Linked DNA regions of Homo sapiens: region 1 is linked to region 2. The links are contacts of gene promoters, found by promoter capture Hi-C in blood cells and fetal thymus (Javierre and others, 2016). All regions are on one chromosome and are shown on one strand. The core of a region is centred on a gene start or on the middle of the fragment in contact, and the rest is flanking DNA. Distances in the headings are between cores, read along the strand shown.

Region 1 (5,410 bases), core at 1,319-3,818, 160 kb before region 2:
ATCTCAAAAAAAAAAAAAAAAAAAAAAAGGTGACGCTATGATAGCAAGTCTGCCTGCAGCGAACCTGCTGCCATCGATGTCTGCTTGATGTAATTAAATGGTGCAAGCTTGGACTAAAAAGTAATCGATAATCAAATTAGTTATTTAAAATTGGACATACAGAGTGTTTTGGGCAAAAGTAAAATACAGCTGTTAAAAACAAGACGACTTCATGCCTGGGTGTGTAGTTGATGATTCAAGATGAATATGCAATCCATACTGCATATTCATCAGTGAATATGGATTCAGTGGTAGGAATTATTTGAAGATACAAAGAATGTTTCTCCTTGAGGGTAAAATTTCAGTTTTTGTTTTTTATTGAAATAGACTTGTAAGCTTGCAAAATTAGGAACATTACTGATAGGTGTACATGATCCAGCTCTACTGGGGGAGTGTCTGAGAACTCGTGAAGTATGGCTTAGTTTGACCTTTCGCCCCAAGCTGTTGGTCCATTGAGTATTTTCCTTAGGAAACGGAAGACATTTAATTAAAATGATAAACCTTAAAGGAATATAGTGAGAATGTATGATATTTTTTGACATGTTGTATTAGAATATACATTCTAATTTTCCTCCACCTTTGATTTTATTTGGTTGTGTTACTCTGGTTTCCTCAGAGCATGGAATACTGAAAAATCAAACTCTCCTTTTCAGTATTTGCAAAAGATGTATTCGGAAAATGGATCATCACTGCCCGTGGGTGAACAATTGTGTAGGAGAAAAGAATCAAAGATTTTTTGTGCTCTTCACTGTAAGTAAAAATATTTTTGTATTGAATTTACATTGAATTTGAAATTCTTTAACTGCTTCTTGCCTGGAGCAGAGAAATCTACTAACGTCAGGCCAGTTTCTCTCCAGCCTTTTCTCCAGGATTCAAATTATAATACTGTGCTGTCATTGGCAGGAAGTAGTCCCAATAAGTAATATGTTGCTTGTATTATTTTAGGTGTTCACTGTAATTTAATTCTCTCCCAGATGTCCTCAATCGCTATTGTTTATTAATAATAACAGGAATCTTCCTAAAGTATGTTAGAGTTTATTTCCTTTTTCTTTTCTTTTTTTCTTTTTTTTTTTTTTGAGATGGAGTTTTGCTCTTGTTGCCCAGGCTGGAGTGCAGTGGTGTGATCTCAGCTCACTGCAACCTCCGCCTCCCAAGTTCAAGTGATTCTCTTGCTTCAGCCTCCCAAGTAGCTGAGATTACAGGCATGTACCACCACGCCTGGCTAATTTTGTATTTTTCGTAGAGATGGGGTTTCTCCATATTGGTTGGGCTGGTCTTGAACTCCCGACCTCAGGCGATCCGCCCACCTCGGCCTCCCAAAGTGCTAGGATTACAGTCGTGAGCCACCGTGCCCGGCCGTTTATTTTTTTATAGACGGGGTTTTGCTGTGTTGCCCAGGCTGGTCTTAAACTCCTGAGCTCAAGCCATCTGCCCGTCTTGGCCTCCCAAAGTGCTGGGATTACAGGCGTGAGCCACCATGCCCAGCTATATTTTTCTATAAAATTATTCTACTTGGTCTAATATGATCTTGGGTAGGAAAATGTCAACTGCTGCCATTTAATCCTTCCCTCATTTTTTTCTCTGACAAGATGGAGGTATACACATGATGTGTCATCAGCCTTTGCTCTTAGAAAGACTTGTTTAAGTTACTAACTGGCTGGGTGGATCACTAGAGGTCAGCAGTTACAGACCAGCCTGGCCAACATGGTGAAACCCCATCTCTACTAAAAATGCAAAACAGTTAGCCGGGCATGGTGCTTGTAGTCTCAGCTACTTGAGAGGCTGAGGCAGGAGAATCGCTTGAGTCTGGCAGGCGGAGGTTGCAGTGAGCTGAGACTACGCCGCTGCATTCCAGCCTGGACAACAGAGGGAGACTCTGTTTCTAAAAAAAATAAAAAATAAAAGTGACTAACCAATCTCCCCCTCATTCTAGATGTATATAGCTCTGTCTTCAGTCCATGCTCTGATCCTTTGTGGATTTCAGTTCATCTCCTGTGTCCGAGGGCAGTGGACTGGTAAGTTCCCTGGCTATGTGTCATTCCTGGCTTTGCATGCTGTTATTGGATGAAAGGGGAAAGCTTTAAAGGAAGAACCAGTTTTCCAATTTTGAAGGAAATCATTGCAATTATTTTAGCAATTGAATTTTAAAGAATTTAGTTAAGTTTTAACACCACCATTTTACTAGTATATTGTTGCCCCAAAAGCTTGTGTCTGTCTGCTGGTCAGCTAGCTCGCCATTGTTCAAAGCAGGCTTCACGTTGCTTACGTGAGTGACCGACCCTAAGCAAGTGTAGTGAAAATAGGTGCTCGTTATCCTACCTTAGATATGCAGTGAGGTCTGGACAGGCTCATCCCACCCCAGGGGAACATGGTGAACAGACTCCTGTGAGCACTGCTCACTGGTATGGGTGCACACAACTCTTCTGGTCTGGCTTCATTTGCCATTTAATTCATAAATACAGTGTCAATAGAAACCTCAGAAAATACAGACTCTTTTGAAACCACTGGCCAGGAAGTCATGGTATGAATTTTTGCTTGGAAGGGTGGCCCTCCTCTGCTCCTTGGAGAACAATGAATGTGCCCATTTAGAAAGTGAACAACTTCCCCCTGGAAGCTGGCCAGGGGCTGGCCCTAGAGGATTCTTCTCTGAGCCAAACATTCTGCCACTCGGGGTATTCAGGACCAGTTATAACCAACTTCCTCTTGTCCGCAGAATGCAGTGATTTTTCACCTCCGATAACTGTAATCCTGTTGATCTTCCTGTGCCTTGAGGGTCTTCTGTTTTTCACTTTCACTGCAGTTATGTTTGGCACCCAAATCCACTCCATATGCAACGACGAGACGGTAAGCTTTGTTCTCGGCTGTGTGGACTTCATATGTGGTCCAAGCTTGAGTAAATGAAAAGTCCTAATGTCAACAATAGGTGCCTGTGGACTGACTCGGGAACGTAATGGGACGGTCTTGATGAGCTGCAACCAGCTCCCTGTGTTTGCTGTTTCTTTCATTCTGGGCAGTGCATATTTCTAGTCTCAGTTTGATTTGCAAGTCAGCAGAGCCAGGCAGATTCCCAGCTCCCAGTGCAGTCAGTAAATTTCAGGGAACTGACTGCCTTTAGGGCCTGGCTCTGCAGGCCTGGAGTGGCGCTCAGTAAATGTCTGTACACAGTAACTAACGAGCGACAAATGTTGGTGCCTGGCTGGGAGGGCCATTGTGGTAGTCTGGGCTGGCCACGTGGCTGCAGCCGGGCTGGGCTCACAGAGGCCACGGGGTCTGGATCGGGGCAGAGCTGGGAAGGAGAGTTCACTCACCTACCCTCCATCGAGCCCACACTGTGCTTGAGCACGGTGTGATTCTGAGGCTTGGTGGGGTCTGCCGAGCTTCCTGGAGCCGCTGCCACTTGCTTTTCTTTCTGCTTCCAGGAGATCGAGCGATTGAAAAGTGAGAAGCCCACATGGGAGCGGAGGCTGCGATGGGAAGGGATGAAGTCCGTCTTTGGGGGGCCCCCCTCACTCCTCTGGATGAATCCCTTTGTGGGCTTCCGATTTAGGCGACTGCCCACGAGACCCAGAAAAGGTGGCCCGGAGTTCTCAGTGTGAGGCGTGGCTCATCAGACTGAAACTTGCTCACAGACTTCCAGTTATTTATTTGGGGTCTGAAGGATATCAACAGCTCATCTGTGACCAACAGGGCAACTGGAACCTACACAAACCAATTGCTTGCAGCAAGCAGAGTTTTATATATTTATAGTCACAGATGGCAGAGGAAGAGGCTCTCAGTCCCCACCTGTACAACAACGGAAAGGTGTGTGGCCACACGAAGAAGCCAAACGCCGTGGCCTCCTGCAGAGCTGGGGCTTCTGTGGAGAATACTTCGGGTTATTACATGGGTTATTCAAATCCTGGGTCCTGAGCTGCTGTTTCCAATCATGAAGAAAAACAGTGAATCCAGTGAACAGGGATTCTCCAAGCAGTCATTTCAGGGGGCTCCTGCTGACCCCGCCACTCAGCAGTGCACTCCCCGGATCACAGCAGGGCGTTTACATAGAAAGACGTTTTGGTCTCGATTAGCTCCGATGCTTTGCACTGAAGTTGCAAAAGATCTGTGCACTGAACAGTGAAGGTGGCTTCCGGCACACTCCCCGCTGCCCCGGAAGAGACATCCTTTGACCCTCTCAGCAAGTCTGTGTGTGTGCGTGTCTGTGCGTGTGCGCGCGTGTGTGCATGTGTGTCAAAATTGCCAGTGTTGTTTAGGCAATGTAACATTTACCGGCTGTGTACAGCAAACAAGCTATTTTTTAGAAACCGACGTTTCAGGGAAGAGGGGAGAGAGCCGCGGGGTCCTGCCCGTGGTTACTATGAATGTATTGCTGTTGGAGGACATCTCGATCCAAAGAACAGCCGTTCCTGTGCGGCCCTTCGTTGCCCTCCTGCTTTCATTTTTTAAAGAAATCTTGAGTGCTTGAGGGCCTTGGAACTGATTTTTTTTTTTTGTTCCAGCCAAATTAGCAGTGTATAAATGGCACCTAGGTAAGAGCAGAGCTGCGGCTCGGTGACTTGATACTTGGGGCAGCCCGATGCTGTGTGTGGGGCAGGGGAGGCATCCTTACTGGAGAGGCAGGGCCCAGCCATTGGGCACCTCTGGGAAGGGGAGGGGACCATGAGGCAGCCAGCCCCTGGCAGGGGCGACTGTGCCACCGCAGGCAGCGCTCCAGTCGGGAATGGCCAGGATGGCGCCCTCTTGTTGGAGTTTTTGGTTAGCTTTTACGTTTTCTTCTCCACCCACGGCACAGGTGATAAAATAGGATCCTTGGTGCGGAGCTTAAAATTATGCCAGAAAGCCAACAGCTCCCCTCGTGGGGCCTTGCCTTAAACTTGCCTGGTTTGTACATTTTTTGCCGGACGCATCAAGAAGCAATCTGTGACAAAGTCTGAGGGTCTTCCTTTATGCTTGCCCTCCACACTAAGAGAAGTTGGCGTCTCCCTCCTGGGAATTGTTTTGCCTTTCTGTTCATCTGTGAACTGTTTTTTGTTTTTAATTACTCTGTACCCCATCCGAATCAGGGCTTCTACCACTGCTGATGCAAAACCACAAAGGGACCTACCTGAGCCACCGTCCTAGCCAAGCGAGCAAACCTGCAGGGGGTTTGGAAGTGGACTTGGTCACCGCAGAAGCGTGTGCGCCGTTGGGGGAAGAGCTGCGTCACAGCCAGAGGGACAAAGTGTGGGTGATCCTGGAGACGCCAGTTTCCGAGATTGTTCTGCATATTCATTTGCACATTGTTGTCTGGGTTGGACATGCGTGTGGGCTTCAGTGTGAGGCTTTTAATATGTATATCCTGTTATCAATAAAACAATTATCCAAGTGGTTGAAT
Region 2 (5,993 bases), core at 3,470-5,969:
GACGGCAGGAGTGAAATTAAACACAGTAAAAACAACAGTTACTTCCTCCCAGCCAGGCACTGACACCAACCAAAGGCTTTGTTGTAGAGGATGCTTGCTCTTTGTTGTAAAAGGAGATCAGGGTGTGGGAGAGGTGATAGGGACAATTCCACCTGTGACTTTCACCTTGCCATAAGCAGAAGGACCGGAAGAACAGAGAATGGAAAGAACAGAGAATGGAAAGAACAGCTCTTGGACTGGGGGGATTTGCTGCTGGATCTGTGCCCGTGCTCAGTCACCTTGGGGACCCCTAGGTATTGGCTCTGCACACTTTGGAGGACACAGTTCATTCTAGAGTGAGCTGTTCTCAAGTTCTCAGTGCCACCGTGTTACTCTCTGTTCATCTTGATGGTGCCCACTAAGTGGTACAGCTCATCACAACACCTGCAGGACAGACCTTTGCTGCCCTGAGCCTGGCTCGTAGACTACAGGCACACCAAACTTCCTGCCATTCTCCAAGAGTCCCAGGCCCTTCTCCACCTGCAGGCCTTTGCACACACACGGTGCCTCTGCCTGGGGCACCCTCGCCAGCTCCCCACCCACCCACTATCATCTTCCCCTGCTCGCAAAACCCTGCCTGTTTCCTCTAGGCGTTATCAGGCTCTTCTCAAGTCAGTCTCAGAAGATGCCAGCTCCATGCCAGCTCCCAGTCCTTAGAGGGGTCCAGTTGAGTCTTTTCCCTATTCAAAAAATATTTGGGGTAGGGTCAGTTCCAGCTCACTTGATTACAAGCAAAATGGGAGCATGACTTTTTTTCCTGGGATGTTGCCATTCTGTGCTCAAAATAAAACACGTTCCAGAAATTGGGATTGAAAATGTGGGATTTCATAATTTATAATTTTTAAAAAATGATGGTCCGGAAATTGCACAATCCTCATCAGGACGTTTTTTTTCCCTCTGACTCTGTGGTTTTTGTCTTAGCTGATGCAGCACTCAAGACAATCAAAGATAAATCTCCCTCGGGCTGGACCATGATGTCCTCGCAGCCTTGCAAGAGGGGTCTTTGTCCAAGAGTACTCGTCATTGTACAGCCTGGGGTAGAAGGCAGGGCTCCCCCAGGGCGATGTCTCAGGATTCCCTGCCTGCTGCTGCTGTGACCCAGGTGGCACGCCAACACTGCCCACAAATGCCAAATGCCAGGGCTTCCCTGCACCCATGGAGAAGGCCAGCAACACATTCTGGAATGACATGACCTGAGTTGATGCTTCAAGAAGGAACTCAAAAAAGAGGCCACAGTCTCCTCAATAAGTTAAACATAAAGTTACCATATGACCCAGCAATTCCCTCCCAGGTAAACACTCAAGAGATATGAAAACATCCGCCCTCAAAAAACCTTGTACACAAATGTTCACAGCAGAAGCCTCTGTAAAAGCCAAAGGTGGAAACAGCCCAGATTTCCTTCAGTGGAAGAATGAATAAACAAAACGTGGTCTATTAATGCAATGGAATATTACTCAGCCATAAAAAAGGAACGAAGGTCTCATACACATTACAACATGGATGAACCTTGAAAACATGATGCTGAGTGAGAGGAGCCAGACACAAAAGGCCACACATTGTGTGGTTCCATTTACATGAAATGTCCAGAATAAGCAAGTTCGTAGAGACAGAAAGGAGATGAGCGGCTGAAGGGAGGAGAATGGCGAATGATGCCTAATGGGCCTGGGGTTTCCTTACGAGATGATGAAACGCTCTGGAATTAGTGGTGGTGGCTGCACAATACTTCCAATGTACTAAACGCCACTGAATTGTACACTTCAAAATGGGTTAAATGGTAAATTTTATGTTTATGTGTATTTTTACCACAATACATCTTTTCAGGAAAAAGAAAAACAGAACATGGCCCATCCTATTAACCACCACCCAGATCTACCTGTCCCTTGCCTGTCCCAGAACTCAGCGTGCTCTATTTAAGACTTTACAACGTGCTTTAGGTCCCTGTCCCTGGAAGGTCTGAGCATCTGTTCCACTCAATGAACTGAAGACGAAGTGAAATATGCCCAGATTGAATTTTCCTTTCCTGACAAGCCGTCAGCCCGTTTGAGTGATCCTGGGTTTGCACATCTGGGACTGATCAAAAACCAGTGCGTTTGCAAAAGAAGAAAAAAGAAAAAGAAAGAAAAAGCCTCCTGAGTCTGGCGCAGGCAGACATGCAGACACCTCCCACACACAGCAAATGACGCTGGTGACAGAGGAAAGAAAAGTTCCAGTTCCCACAGGCCAAAGAGGTCAGTGCCCTGCCTCCAAAAACTTTCTGACCTCCAAAGACGTCAGAGGGTCCTGCCTCCAAAAACTTTCAAATGCAACTTACAAAGGGCCACATACTTAATTTGTGGTCTTTTGAGGGATGAAGTGCAGAGGTTTTAAGAGACCTCGCAGTCTTCTTCCCTAGCTCAGGCCTTCCCAGTCAAACCAACTCTCCTCTCCAGGACAGAGGCAGGACTCAGAACCAGCACTGATTTGGGTCCTGGGACGGGGCTCTCAGTACCTGTCAGCAATGTTGAGCCCAAGCCCAGGGTCAGTTGATCCCCTCCCAGCCTCACCCCAACAGGGACCAGGGACCCAGATCCCTGCCAACGTTAAAAAAACTCCCACATGGCACAGAAAGCCTCAACTAGCAGCAAGCTCTGCTGGGACAGTCATGTGGCTGGTCATTAGATGGGCACCTTCCCCCAGAATCTGGGGCAGGGCCCAGCCTGGACGGCAGCTCTACCCCGCCCTGGCTGTGTCATGTTGGGCACACACCTTAATAATTCTGAGCCTCAACTAACTCCTTGTAAAAAGTGCCCAGCTAATAGAGCAGGCAGTGAGCTCATCCGTGGAAACCCTGGGCATGTCTGGTCTGTACTAAGCATCATGTAAATGTCAGCTGCTTGTATTATTACAAATGGCATTATTACTATTCCTACTCTCACATCTTAAGAAACTCTGAAAAAATCAAAATCACCCTCTTGGTTTCTCCTCCCTGGGTACATTGTCCAGTGGTTTTAACTGGAGCCCCTGTAAGACAAAACATCACCTGTGTGAAGGTCAGGTTCATGGGTGGAGTTGGCAGTGGGCAGGGAAGTGTCTTAAAGAAAGCAGGGTCAAGAGTGCAGATAGGACCCACCTGGGGGTGACAGCATTCCATACCAGCTGGGGGATCTTAGGCAAGCACTTCACCTTGCTGAGCCTCAGTTTCCTCAGCTGTGAAGTGGGCATCAAGAGGCCTACTCCCCGGGGTGTTGCAGCGATGACAATACAGGTAAACTGCGTGGCACAGACCGCGTGCCTGCCGCACAGGCAACACAGTCACACACCCACCCCTTCTCCTGAGTGGGAACAGCCAGATCAGGGGCAGAAGCAGAAAATCAGGTGCATACAACCCAAGGAGCCCTGGGACAGCCGACAGTCACAACTCATGGCCTCAGTCTACTGGAAAGGACCACGCCCCGGTCCTGTTCTGCAGGCTCTCCTCACTGTCAGACATCAGACCCTGGATGGGGAAAGCAGGCTCACCCCATTCTACCAGGGCAAGAGGTCCAAAGGCCCAAAGGGGAAACTCACAACCCCACTCTCGGTTGCAAGGCAAGCTAGGCATTTGCACGGGATGCTTCTCTCAGCCAGGGCAGCAACTCACATTTTGGCTGAGAGACGCCCAATTCAAGTTGGACTGCGATGAGCAGGCATCAGCGAAGTCCTCCCTGGCTTGTCCACCAGCCCAGCCTTAGCAAGGGAGGCTCTGGGTCTGCAGCACATGAGGGACTAGCCCTGGCTCTGTCCACGTGGGACGACCGATCTCCCCCACACTCCAGAGTGAGCCCTCCGCTTCCAGGGTAACTCTCCCCACGCAGGAGTTATGCAGGTGCCCGCTCTGGCTAAAGAAACCCAGAAACGTGTTCCCCCAGACTGCAGAACCCTGACATGGCCCCAAGTCTCTACACATCCATTTGAAGCTCTGGAGACAGACAGAGCTGGGTTCCAGCCCTGGCTCTGCCCGGACAACTTACTTCACCTCTCTGACCCTCAGCATCTTCATCTGAAATGTGGGAAGAAGGCTACCTTGCAAATGAAATCACAGAGGGGCGTGGCCCTCTAAACTGCAGCTGAATGCACATGCCACTAGATCACCCTGGTCCTCCAGACATGAGTAGGACACATTCTAATGCCTGCCATATCCATGCCATCAGCTTTCCAGTTATTGACACCCACTACGAACACAGGAATGCAACAAATGCTAGTGAACTGCACGAGGAAGGCAAGAGAGTAAACAGCCTCTAAGGAGCAGGATTCTGCGCTCAGATCGGCGTTGAATCCTGGGTCCTTGGAGTCCTGGCTGCGAGGTCCTGGACAAATGAGTTGTCCTCGCTGAGCCTCAGTTTCTCCATCTGCAAAAGGGCATGTCGCAAAGCTGTGTTCCGCTATGCAAGCAGAGCACTCGGTGTGGTGCCAGCACACAGTCAGCCCTGCGAGGTGGCATCTGTCCTAGTTATTCCAGCTTCTCGGGGGGGTAACAGTTTGCAAAAGGGAGAAGCATGGAAATCACACTTACCTCCGCAGGGCTCCAATCACCAGCTCGCTGGCGTCTCCCGCGTCCAGCAGACGCGGTAGCAGCGGCGACAGCGCGGGCACAGCAGGCACAGCGGGCACAGCGAGCAGACAGCTCAATAGGAGCAGCCGGAGACGCCCTGGGATGCGAGTGGGTGCCGGGGCTCAGCGTACCGCCTCTTGTAGGCTCCCCGGAGCCCGGAGGCCACGCCCCCAGATCGCTGGCGGCGCTGGTAGGACCGAGCATCACCGGCCCCGCCCCCGGCCCCGCCCCGCAGGCTCAGCGGGCTGAAGGAGGCGGGGGGCAGCTGAGGCGCGGGCGCCGGGTGGGCGAGGAAGGCGGGGCCGCTGGCCTCCAGGGCCGGCTAGGGACAAGGAGACGCTCAGCTCCCTCGCCACTGGCCACACAAGCATAGTTTTCATTGAGCGCTTACTATGCGCCTGGCGCGGTGCCAAGCGCTTCCCACAAGGGGCTTGCAAATTTACCAAACCCCAGCTCTCTGCAGCTCAACTGGAAAATAGGAATAAGGAGGCGACCTCCCAGGATTTTAGCAAATGAAATCCGCAAGGGCTGGGCGCTGTGAACTGTGGCGCGGTGCAGAGTACACAGTTACTGAGGTGACTCCCACCCTCTACACGTGCTCAGAAAACTTAGGCCCCCTCTTCCCAATTTGCAGACGAAGAAAGGGAGACTTGTTTCCGGATGGGGCCGCTAGCGCGGGGATCCAGGCTCCGCACTTTACCTTCAACGACCCTAGGACGCGTTCCCAGGAATCCAGGGAGGTGGAAATCACCTCATTTCACAGATCCAGTAGCTGAGGCTTGGAGAAGAGCGTGCCCCAAGTCCCGTAGCTAGGAGCAGTGCAGCATGTTCATATCTCTTTTGCCCGGAGGCATTTAGCATTTTTAACCTGTGCAGGTACATACGGAAATCAATTTAGAGCCAGACGAAATCACCTTTGAAACAGGTAAATCCACGTTCCTTAAGAGCTAAGGGACTGCCCCGTGCTCCCGCCTCAGTCACAAAATGTGGACGGGTATGCAGGCACTGCGCGGTAAGGTGCTGGGGCCCAAGGGCAGGAGGGGGCCTGTCCGCACTGCTCATCTCCGCACCAAGACACCGGAATTAGCTCCTCCAGCATTAACTCATTCCCCAAATACCCATCGAGTCGCTCTGTGCCGGGCCCTGTGCTATACAGCAGGCACAAACAAGACACCTCCGGGATCTCAGAGTCTGGGGCCCCCACGAGCTAGGGCACGTGGGAGAAACAAGGATGGGGAATGGGTGGAACAAGGACTATGGAAGGCTGCCTGCGTGACGTGGACTCAAACAGGGAAGGCTTGCCTAAGATTTTGGTGCGGCTCAAATGCAGATACAGAATAATGCAGACTGGCCGGGCGCGGTGGCTCACACCTGTAATCCCAGC

Evidence for each region. The method cuts DNA at HindIII sites, captures the fragments that hold promoters and counts their contacts. A CHiCAGO score of 5 or more calls a contact.
Region 1: a fragment that was not itself captured here is called in contact with the fragment with the promoter of CRISPLD2 in region 2 in 1 of 17 cell types (monocytes); the score reaches 5.0 in monocytes.

The regions. Positions count from the first base shown.
Region 1 is chr16:84,974,568-84,979,977 of GRCh38, reverse strand. ZDHHC7 (zDHHC palmitoyltransferase 7) reads left to right here. Exons shown (of 8, transcript NM_017740.3): 5 at 693-789; 6 at 1,973-2,054; 7 at 2,753-2,883; 8 at 3,459-5,410. The coding sequence ends at 3,635. Among named protein-coding and RNA genes, the nearest start is that of ZDHHC7, 34 kb to the left of the region's middle. RefSeq lists an enhancer at 2,448-3,647. The HindIII fragment of the contact is 645 bases long and covers 2,246-2,890 here.
Region 2 is chr16:84,818,711-84,824,703 of GRCh38, reverse strand. It overlaps CRISPLD2 (cysteine rich secretory protein LCCL domain containing 2), which reads right to left and starts at 4,719. Exons shown (of 15, transcript NM_031476.4): 1 at 4,571-4,719. RefSeq lists a silencer at 4,757-4,946. The HindIII fragment of the contact is 15,944 bases long and covers 1-5,993 here.